Linked DNA regions of Homo sapiens: region 2 is linked to region 1. The links are contacts of gene promoters, found by promoter capture Hi-C in blood cells and fetal thymus (Javierre and others, 2016). All regions are on one chromosome and are shown on one strand. Each heading gives the region's core, a stretch centred on a gene start or on the middle of the fragment in contact. The rest is flanking DNA. Distances are from core to core; before and after follow the strand shown.

What was found. The method cuts DNA at HindIII sites, captures the fragments that hold promoters and counts their contacts. A CHiCAGO score of 5 or more calls a contact.
Region 2: a fragment that was not itself captured here is called in contact with the fragment with the promoter of RTL9 in region 1 in 1 of 17 cell types (M2 macrophages); the score reaches 5.0 in M2 macrophages.

Annotation. Positions count from the first base shown.
Region 1 is chrX:110,355,500-110,361,475 of GRCh38, reverse strand. RTL9 (retrotransposon Gag like 9) reads right to left here and starts at 2,628. Exons shown (of 4, transcript NM_001385449.1): 1 at 2,560-2,628. It also overlaps a transcript of AMMECR1 not described here. The HindIII fragment of the contact is 7,244 bases long and covers 1-5,976 here.
Region 2 is chrX:109,918,898-109,924,511 of GRCh38, reverse strand. No RefSeq gene overlaps it. Among named protein-coding and RNA genes, the nearest start is that of TMEM164, 81 kb to the left of the region's middle. The HindIII fragment of the contact is 2,619 bases long and covers 1,316-3,934 here.

The sequences.
Region 1 (5,976 bases), core at 1,379-3,878:
ATTCACATAATAAAATTATCCTGGTTCCAAAAAACAGTGAGAGAATAATAGGCTTGAGTGATGGTGGCAAGAACAGAAGCAAGGAGAACAGTTGAGAGGCTAGTGCAATATAATCCAGGAAGCAGATCATTGTGACATAAACCAGGATAGTAGCAATGAAAAAGTGGTCAGATTCTAGATATATTCTGAAGGTAGAACCAATAAGATTTGCTGATCAAATAAATGTAGGATATGAAAGAGGGAAAAATCAAGATTGATTCCTAGGTCTTCCGCCTGAGCAACCGGAAGAATGAAATTGGTATTTAGGGAGACGGGGAAGACTGTGAGGAGCAGGTTTTGTGAGTGCAGCAGGTTTTGTTGGGGGTTGTGGGCAGGGGCAGTTTTGAACATGGTAAGTTGGAGATACCTATTAGGCATGCAAGTTGATATGTCCAGCAGGCAATTGGGCATAAAAGTATGGAGATACAAATTTGTGACTCATCAGCAAATAGATAGTATATTAAGCCACGAAGATCGGAGCATCACTAAGAAGATAAAGGACAGAAGATATCTTAGGCTTCAAGCCTTCCTCTACCTTTCAACTCCAGAAGTCAGTCCGTGACAAAATCCTATCAATTCTTCCTGTATAATGTCTCTCAATTCACCATTTTCCTTCCATTCCCACTGCTACCATTGTAGTCCAGGATCTCACCTTGTCTTACTTGGCTTTTACAATAGCCTCCTAACTGGTTTCCTTGCCTCCAAATGTCAACTTGAAACTCATCATCTCATTTGTCCTTCCCCTCCAAAAAAATCTTTCTACTTCTCCTGGGCTCTCTATCTTAAAGAATGGCATCACTATTCATAAGCATTTGCTTAAACTTGAAAATTTGAAATCCTCCTTGTCACCTCCCTTTCTTCTACTCTCCATTATGCAATTCTATTACCAAACCCTGACATTTTTACCTCCAAAATATAACTCAATTCTGTCCACCATTCTCTGTCTCTATTACTATCAATCTAGTTCAAGATAACATCACCTCCCACCTGGACAATGGTAATAGCCTCTTGACTACTCTTCTTCCCTCTAGTTAATCTCCCATATGAAAACCAGTGGAATCTTTCTAAAACAGTGCTATGCATATTTTGCCTACCTATTCTGTAGGTCCACAGAATAAAATTCAAAAGCCCTTCATCATTTGCCCATAACTTTTCTTTCCAATGGTATCTACTATGGCTTCTCTGGAAATTCCCCTCATTTCATCCCTGTGGGCTTGTCAGTGGTCTTTAGACCCACCATGACCACAGTGTGCCCCCAATACCTAGTGCAGACCTTCCCAAACATATTACAAGTGTCTGAGGCTATGAGATTTCTTCTCTGTCCTCAACTGAGCCCAGAGACAGTGCTGTTGAAACTCCTAGAATGCTTGCCTCTAGATGTCAAACTGCTTCCTCCATTCAGCCTAGTGTGCTTTACAAATACTATGCTTTTCTCTGCATGCCATGACACAATAAAGGTTGTGAAGGACTGCTTTAATGCACACCATTCCCAGAGTTTGGAAAGTGCTGCTCCATTCTCTTCTCTAAGTTCTAAGTACCCTTCTATGCCAAGTTCAAGTCTCACCTTTCTGATAAAGCAGTCTTTGATGCTACATATCCAACCTCAAAATTCTTGTATGATGTGACCAGACCACTCATTTGGCACTTAGTATATGTGCTGCTATTTAACTTTTTATGGTGAGACCTTATCTCTCTGTGTTGTCTGTTGCTTAAGAGCAACAATTTTTATACCGACTTTTGCACCCAGGGCCTTACCATACAGTAAGACACTCAGTATATTTTTACAATATTAATGAATAAATTAATTAATGAATAGATAGTTAAATTCCATCAGATGGTGCAATGGACAAGAACATTAGATTCAGAATCAGAGAATCTGGATTCTAGTGCACTTTGCCACTAGATGGTTGTGTGAGACTTCAGGAAAGTTGCTTGCCTTAGTTGCCTCATTCACAAAATAGGAACAATACTTCCCATTGTGACTTCCCAAGTTGAGATGGGATAATTTATGGAAAAAATATTTGGCAGATGAAAAGAGCATGTCGTTCATGAGTAATGCCAAAAGAGGCAGTGTGGAAGATAAAGAATGAGCTCAAAGAAGCTGCAGAAAACATTAGAGGGTTCATGGGTGAAAAAAAAGCCAAAGGGGTAAGGGAAATTTGCTAGCAAAGTAGACTTGCCCAGGAGTGATTGAGAAAGGATGATAAACACAGAAGAAAGAAAAATCAAGTTTCTGTTGCGAAGCAGTATAACACAGCCACTAGATCCAGACTGCCTAGGTTCAAAGCCTGGCTCTGGCACTTAACCAGCTATGTGACCTTGAACAAGTTATTTAACATCTCTGAACTTCAGTTTACTCATATGTATTATGGGGGCAATAATAATGCCTATTTCCAGGGAAGTGTTATAAGATGTAAAGGAGTTAATACTTATAAAGTACTTAGAGCAGTGCAGACCAGTGCCTAGCATATAGAGCGTTATAGAAGAACGTGTTAGATAAAATAATAATCTTCTCCTTACCAGGCAATACTCCAGTCCTCATGGCTGGCACTTTCTCCTGGGACCTGGAGCAGGGCTCACGAAAGTTCTGACTTGCTCTCCAGTGGGCACGTCTCCTTTCCACATTCCAGAGCCCAGTCCTCTGAGCTTAGCCTATCTCACTGCTCAAAGGACACTATGTTTCCCAGCCTACAAAGTTTCTTTTCAATTCTTTAGCCTTTTTCAAAACCCAATAGAGTTCCTTGTGAGAACAGATAGGAGTGAATTCCATAAGCTCCCAGAAGCAAATACAGACAGTATAATCTAATCTTTTAGAGCAATGGCTTTGTAATCAAGCAAAAGAGAGTTTGAATCAGGGCTCTGTAAATGACCAACTGAGTGACCTTGGACAAATCCAAGGTCTGAGCCTCAGCTTGCTTGTCTTCAAAATGAGGCCTCACAGGTGGTTGTCAGGATCAAATGAGAAAATGGACATGATGCATTCAGTATAGGGCCTGGCATGTGGTAAGCACTCAGAAAGTGTTAGCTCTTATCATTAATAATTCCTAGGATTATGGGTCTCGATTTTCCCAACTCTAGAATGTAATTTAATAGCACTATAGCTCTTATCCACTATTCCTCTGTCATCTCAATTTGACCCTTCCAAACTAAAAAGGTGCAAAAAAATATTCTTGGTGTGATAAGTTGACAACACTCTGCATTTTACACTCCCTTTGAGGTTTATGCCCAGTTTAAAAGAATTACAGAGAAAGAACCCGCAACTCTAAGTATGCTTCAGATTTCCATATGTCTGTAAATGCCTCAAAGACAGCAGTGGTCCTCTTAGCCTAGGGTGAACATCAAAATCACCTATTTTTATTTTTAATTTCATTAAATATAATTCTTCTGATAAAATGGCAAAGAATTTTTTTTCAAAATCCTTGCTTTTACCCTAGAAATGATACTCCTCATGAAACAAATGTCCAATGGGGAGACAGAGGGCCAGGCAAGTATATTTTGCAAAAGTTATCCAAGTCAGTCTCGTAAACACCCCTGATGTGAGAGAGGGACTGGAACATGCATTTGGAGGATGAGGCCAGGGTCTTGCCTTGAGAAAAAATCCAAGAAGGGCAAGTATAACCACTCTGCTTCCCACACAATGTGGGTATGTAGAAACATGCCCTGCACCCACAGGGAAGAGCATAGTATTTTCTCCTGCATGCATTAATCACAGAGGATTTCCCTCCTATAGTTATACAAGCATCATCCTTGACACATCAGTTGGAGAACTGTACTCAGTGAGAATACAAGATTCATCCAGCTTTGAAAATGTAACTATATCTAACAACTGGATTAAATATATTTCATGCCCAAAGATCTAATACTATTTAAAGCCTACAGCAAGGAAGAATGATTACCAAATAATTTAATTATTTTTGGTTTACACATCTGTCATCAAAGTTAATCGTTTGCTGGCAGAAACTGGCCATTTGGTCTTGACCATGATCACTAATGAGTGTGCTTGCATTTCATATCAAGGAAACAGTCTCTCAAATGGTTCTAATCAAATAAATTAAAAGCTGAAATACTTTTAAAAAAGTAAAAAGTGTAAAAAGGCACAATTTATAAGATTTATGAAGTGGTTACTTTTTCTTTTCTGATTTTATGTATATCTATCACTCAACACTTGCTGTGAAACATATTAGATACACCTACGTTACTTTGGAGGACCACCAAATATTTGATTTTCCCATGTATTTATCTAAAAATGTTATTAAATTTTCATTTAAATCTTTCAAAAATAGAGTGTTAAATTTCATGTATATGTGTGATCTATACTAATAGATCTAAGCTAATGTATACATACTCAGTTCTCATTTTTCTATTTGCAAAATTCAAACTAATGAATTAGTTTGAAGAAAGAAGAAAGAAATGAAGAATTTTGAAAAGTAATTCTCAAAATGCTTAAAAATAGATGCTAAATTCATTGAGCTACTCATTTCAATATTTTAATATAAGAATGCAAAATTTGTAATGTAGTAGTTAGGTACACAGACTTGAAAATCAGGGAGAAGTGATTCCATTTTCCTTCTGCTCTCTTGCTAACTATGCAACCTCAGGCAAGTAACTGCACTTCTCTGAGCTTTAGTTATCTCATCTGTAAAATGAGGATAATAATATTATATGTCATAAGGGATGTGGACATTAAATATGATAATACTTACAAAATATTATTATTTTTTCCTTTCAAAACTATTTTTAATTGACAAATGATAAGGTGTGTATATATATATATGGTACAATGTGATGTTTTGATCTATGTGTATATTATAGAAAGATTCAATCAAGCTAATGAACATATCTATCACCTCGCTAATTTATCATTATTTTGTGGTAAGAACATTAAAAAGCTATTCTTTTACCAATTTTGAAATACACAATATATTATTATTAACTGTGGTTACCATGTAGTGCAATACATCACTAAAAGTTATTCCTCTAGTTGGCCAGTGTGGTGGCTCACACTTGTAATCCCAGCACTTTGGGAGGCCGAGGCAGGTGGATCACCTAAGGTCAGGAGTTTGAGACCAGCCTGGCCAACATGGTGAAACCCCGTCTCCACTAAAAAAACACAAAAATCAGCTGGGTGTGGAGGTACATGCCTGTAATCCCATCTACTCTGGAGGCTGTGGCAGAAGACTCACTTGAACCCAGGAGGTGAAGGTTGCAGTGAGCCGAGATGCTGCCACTGCACTCCAGCCTGGGCAACAGAGTAGGACTCTGTCTCAAAAAAAAAAAAAAAAAAAAGGTTATGCCTCCAGTCTCACTGAAATTTTATATAATTTGATCAACATCTTCCCTTTCCCCAACCCTCCTCCTCCCCACTAACCTCTGGTAACCACCTTTCTGTTCTTTGTTTCTATGATATCCACTTTTTAAGATTTCACGTAGGAGATCACACAATATTTATCTTTCTGTGCTTGCCTTATTTCACATAGCATAGTATCTTCCAGTTCCATCCATGTTGTTTTGAATGATAGAATTTTCTTATTTTTTAAGGCTATATAGTATTCCATCGTGTATAGGTATTACATTTTCTTTATCCATTCATCTGTTGATGGACATTTGGGTTGCTTCCACATCTTGACTATTGTGAATAATACTAAAATGAACATGGGCGTGCAGATATCTCTTTGACATACTGATCTCAATTCCTTTGGATTTATACCCAGAAGTGACATTGCTGTATCATACGGTAATTCTATTTTTAGTTTTTTGAGGAACCTTTATACTGTTTTCCAAATGGTTATATGAATTCACCTTCCAATCAACAGTGTGCAAGGATTCTCTTTTCACCATATTCTCACCAACACTTATCACTCATCTTTTTGATAATGGCCATTTTAACAGATGATACCTCATTGTGGTTTTACTTTGCATTTCCCTGATGAGTATAGA
Region 2 (5,614 bases), core at 1,376-3,875, 440 kb after region 1:
GCAGGAATAAACATGATAAATAATTAAACTTGTAGTATCTTAGATAGGGTCAAGGGCCAAGGCAAAATATAAAGCAGGGAAGGAGATATAGGAAATGTTTTGAGGTACTGGGGTTGGAGAAAGCCTCACCGAAAAGTTATCTTTGAGTAAAGGCTTAAGGGGGTTAAGCAAATTAACGCTAATGGGGGCCAGGCATAGTGGCTCATGCCTGTAATCCCAGCATTTGGGAGGCCGAAGGGGGCGGATCACTTGAGGTCAGGAGTTTGAGACCAGCCTGGTCAACATGGCGAAACCCAATCTCTACTAAAAATACAAAAATTAGCTGGGCGTGGTGGTACATACCTGTAATCCCAGCTACTCGGGAGGCTGAGGCAGGAGAATCTCTTGAACCCGGGAGGCAGAGGTTGCAGGGAGCCGAGATCACATCACTGCACTCCAGCGTGGGTGACAGAGTGAGACATTCCATCTCAAAAAAAAAAGCAAAAGACAAAAAACAAATTAACAGTAATGGTCACTAATGGTTTTCTTCCATAGTTTAAGTGCTCTCTAGGAAAAGAGAGTTCACCAGCTTCCATCATAGGCTTATGCATTGATCTATGTATGCATTCATCTAGTACCTATTGATTGAATGCCTGATGCCAGACATTGTATTTGCTGAAGATAAAATAATTCTAATACTTACTGTGTCATCACCATGCACTAGGTACTGTCCCAAGCATTTTTCCCACATTAACTCATTTACTCATCTTAACAACCCAAGGCAGTAAGTGCCATTATCGTCTCCATTTTATAGATAAGGGAATTGAGGCACAAGGGATATCAGGGATAGTCAAGGTATGCTACCTGTCCTCAAAAAGCTCTCAGTCTGACAGAATACAGATATATAAGAACTACAATGCAGAGCCTGATAGAAGGAAGGATAAGGCATTACGGGAACAAAGAAGGGCCCTATTGAGGGCCTTTGTTTTTTTTTTTCATTTTTTTTTGTTTTTGTTTTTGTTTTTCAGATGGGGTCTCACTCCCATTGCCCAGGATGGAGTGCGGTGGCATGATCACAGCTCACTCTAGCCTGCAATGAAAGATATTTTAAAAAGCAATTTGCTATCAAATTCATTGTAAGACTGTTGTAAAGATTGCCATCTACTACATCTTATGGTACCCTCTTTTCTGGGAATCTTCTGAAGATATTTCTCTCAAATATCAGGAAAAAAAAACCCTGAGCTCTTAAAGTGGGGAGGGTATTTTTTAAACTTATGGATGCTGTGAATCCTGTAACTAATCAGATTTCTATCTTTGCATTGGCTGCCGGAAAGCTTAGAAATATATTTGTGGTCTACGTCTCTAGCATTGGAAGAATCTTTTGGCAGGCATTTTTCTAGGTGAATCTTGTCCTTCCCCTGGATTTTTGTTCCTTTTCCTTACCCTGAGTATTTTTTGCCATGATTTTGTATTTTTTCTTCCCATTTTATGCATTTTGAAAGCCACCATAAATATTTTTAAGAATAATACAAAAAGTAGAGTAGTTTTGAAGGATGAATTTATCAGATGGACACAGAGAAAAGGACATTCCAGGCAACATGTGCAGAGGACTGAAGGCATGAGAAGTAATGGTATGTATTAGGGAAAGTAAGGTGGACAAGGGAAGGGCTCCAAGCTGAGCCTACGGTGTCAGACATGCTGGTGTCTGAGGCTCAAACTTACAAATTTTATGACTTAATGTATCTGAGCCTTGGTTTCTTTTCTGTAAAATGGAAACAATAGTTACACCTATCTCATAGAATTGTAGTGAGGATTAGATTCATTCACGCATCAAAAATATGTATTCAGGGCCGGCCATGTGCCAAGCACTGTGCTAGACACTGGGAGGAGAGAAGTAAATAGATAAGAATGATGGTCTTGCTCACCATGGAGCCTGTAGACTGGTGTAGATAACACATGTAAGGTGCTTAGCACATGGCAAGTGCTCAATAAATAGGATAAATAATATTATAAATGGTAGTATAATAAGAATAGTATAAATATTGTTGCATGTTCAGGCATGAGAACTCAAGGGACTTCCTGTCTAAGCAGTAGCACTGGGGAAAGGGACAGCAGATGATGCTGGCAAAATGTGAAGAGGACAGATAGCCTACACGACTAAGGAGTGTGGAGTCATAGATTTTGAGCGAGAGAGAGAGAGAGATTGGTGGAGGGTGGGGGAGATGATTTTTTTTTCAGAAAAAAAAAACAAAACACTTTATTTTGAAAAACAAATTCAGCCAAGTGTGGTGGCTTGTGTCTGCAGTCCTAGCTACTTGAGAGGCTGAGATAGGAGGATCATTTGAGATCAGGAGTTTGAGACCAGCTTGGGCAACATAGCAAGACCCTGTCTTGGGTGAGGTGGCTCAGGACATTAATTCCAGCACTTTGGGAGGCTGAGGTGGAAGGATCACTTGAGGCCAGGAGTTCAAGACCAGTCTGGGCAACATAGTGAGAACCCATCTCCACAAAAATAAAAAAAAAAAAAAAAAAACAGCCGGGTGTGGTGGTGCATGCCTGTAGTCACAGCTGCTTGGGAGGCTGAGGTGGGAGGATTGCTTGAGGCAAGGAGTGTGAGGCTGCAGTGAGCCATGATTGCACCACTGTACTCCAGCCTGGGTGACAGAGACCCTGTCTCTATAAAACAAACAAACAAAAATTGAGTCCCTAAATTCTTATGTCTAAACTTATGTCCCTAAATTCTTATGTCTAAATCTTTCTTCCTGCAGATTTTATGTACATTTCTATCTTCCTTCTTTTTCTCCTCTTCCTCCTCCTCTTCTGCTTGTTACTACTCCTACTACTGCTCCTAGTTGCTCTCATTTCTTGAATGATTACAACGCTGGGCACCGTGTCTTTTTTTTTTTTTTTTTTTTGGAGACAGAGTCTCACTCTGTTGCCCAGGCTGGAGCACAGTGGTGTGATCATGGCTCATTGCAGTGTCAACCTCCTGGGCTTAAGCAATCCTCCTACCTCAGCCTCCTGAGTAGCTGGGACTACAGGTGCATGTCACCACACCCAGCTAATTTTTGTATTTTTTGTAGAGATGAGGTTTTGCCATGTTGCCCAAGCTGTGTGCTAAGTAATTAACTTGTGATTAATGGTACCTACCTCATAGAGTCATGAAGATTTTCCTCTTCATTTTACAGATGTGGAAACTGACATTTAGAGAAATTAGGTAACTTGCCCAAGGTAACTTGTTTAGTAAATGGTGAAGTTAATTTCTGAACCATGATATCTTGAATAATGAAGGCTATTTAATGAGTGTCAGGCATTCTTCATGCATAACTTCATCTCATTTTATCCTCACGACAGTCTTCTTAGATAAATATTATTATCCCCATTTTATAGATAATTTGAGCCTCAGAGAGGTTAAGTAACTTTTCCAGAGTCACACAGCTTATATGTAGTATAGCTCTACATTGAAATTTTGGATAGTATTACTATTTAAATAGGAAGATGTATAAAGGTTGTACTTAAATTCTGGGTGCTAGAGTGGAAATGCTTTGGGTCAACAGATAGGTCAACCGAACAGTAGTCCTTGTCTTAAATGGGCCACCCTTTCCTAATGTGCCTTATGAAAGAACTAGAAACAACTATCTGAAGCTGGCTTCCCATTTTAGTAGCTTTACAGCAGTTCCTGAAGCACCAGCCTTTTAACAGAAGGTTAGAAGCTAAAGCTCACACTCGAAGTGGTTTCTCCCTTTTCAACCAACCCTGCCCCTTATGTACATATACCACCCGCCCCAGATACTCTGATGCCACAGAATAAACTGGAGAAGGGGGGTTGTGCACAGGGAGATTTGGCCTGACTGTCTGCTGAAGAAACCAGTGTTGGTAGAAACTAATGAATCTGGGCTTGACAGCATTCTTTCCATAAAAAAATCATTATAAAATGCTGCTGTCTCCTGAAGCTTCTCAGCCCGGCTCCTGATTCATGGGCGATAAGCTCAGAGTTGCAGGCCTGCCGCCTTATTGCCATACAAAACATTAATCTTCTGGGTTTTTCCACCCCCCTGACAGCACAGGGTAATCAGGCAGAATTACAGCTCTGAAATGTTTGTGATTATGGGATTTGCAGCAAATAAATTGCTCAGGCTTTGGTGTCAATAGCTATAGCTTTTTTCTTTTCCTATCTTTTTATTTTCTGTTTCTGGAAGGCAGAGCGCACCTTTCTACATTTCAATTCCACATATATTTCTTCAAAAGGCCTCGATTCTCCATTTATAAAAGAAATTTATTTGACCAGCTACAGTTAGCATTTGTGAATATTGGGACAACTGGGGGCCTGGTGTTAGCTCTGGGTTAGAGGAACCTAGCTTCTCAGTTCTGTTTGCTGAATGTACGGACAGGGTGGCAAACGGGATCAGAGCAGAGGCCACGCTCAGGAAATGGAAGGCCTGAGTCAAGTTACAATGGGAATAAAGTTTCAGAAGTACTGAGGAGGCTCCCTTCCCTCTCCCTCACTGGAATACTTACTGCTGCTACTTGAAATTTCATTTGGCTGGGCACGGTGGCTCACGCCTGTAATCCCAGCACTTTGGGAGGCCGAGACAGGTGGATCATCTGAGGTCAGGAGTTCGAGACCAGCCTGGCCAACAAGGTGAAATCCCGTCTCTACTAAAAGTACAAAAATTAGCCGGTCATGGTGGCGCATGCCTGTAACCCCAGCTACTCGGGAAGCTGAGGCAGGAGAATCACTGGAACTTGAGAGGTGGAGGTTGCAGTAAGCCAAGGTCATGCCACTGCACTCCAGCCTGGGCAACAGAGCGAGACCCTGTCTCAAAAAAAAAAAATTCATCATTCATGTTTGATTTCTTTGGCTTTCGTTTTAATTCCCTGTTTGGATGCAAGTGTCCCTGGAGAAGCACATTACTTTGTTTCAGGGAATAAGTTTGTCTCTTCAAATGTATAAAAAGAAGGGATGTTTGTCTCACAATGTAATGTTTTCAAATAAGCAGTACATTTAAGTGATTCAAAATTCGAAACTATGTAAAAGGAATACATTAAGAAGTCTTTCTCCTCCTCTGTCTTAATTTACCTGTTTTTTTTGTTCAATCCCCTTGCCTCTAGTAGGTAACCACTTTCATTAACTTCTTGTATAACTTTTTATTATTTGTACAGATATGTACACGAGTCTTCCATATTTTCCTCCTTCAATGTAGTATATATCATGGAGATATTTCAATATCAGTACAGACACAGTTTCCTCAACCATTTTTTTAAACAACTGCGTAACATTACATTGCATGAATGTACCATTGTTTATTTATTCAGTTCCCTATAGATGGACACTTGGGTTGTTTCCAACCTTTCACTATTATAAACAATACTGCAAGGAATAATCCTGCACATGAGGTGCTTCCTGAAGTGTGAAAGTCAGCCTGTAAGATAAAAAACCAGAAAGGTAAATACTTTTAGAAATATTAACAAATATTGACAAATTGCCCTCTGTGGTGGTTGTATTATACACTTTTGCATTCCCAACAGCAATGTATGAGAGTGCTCATTTCCCCCACTACTTTACAACTGAGTGTTGCCAAACTTTCGGATTCTGGCAAACCTAACAGGAGGGAAATGCTGTGTATATTTGGTT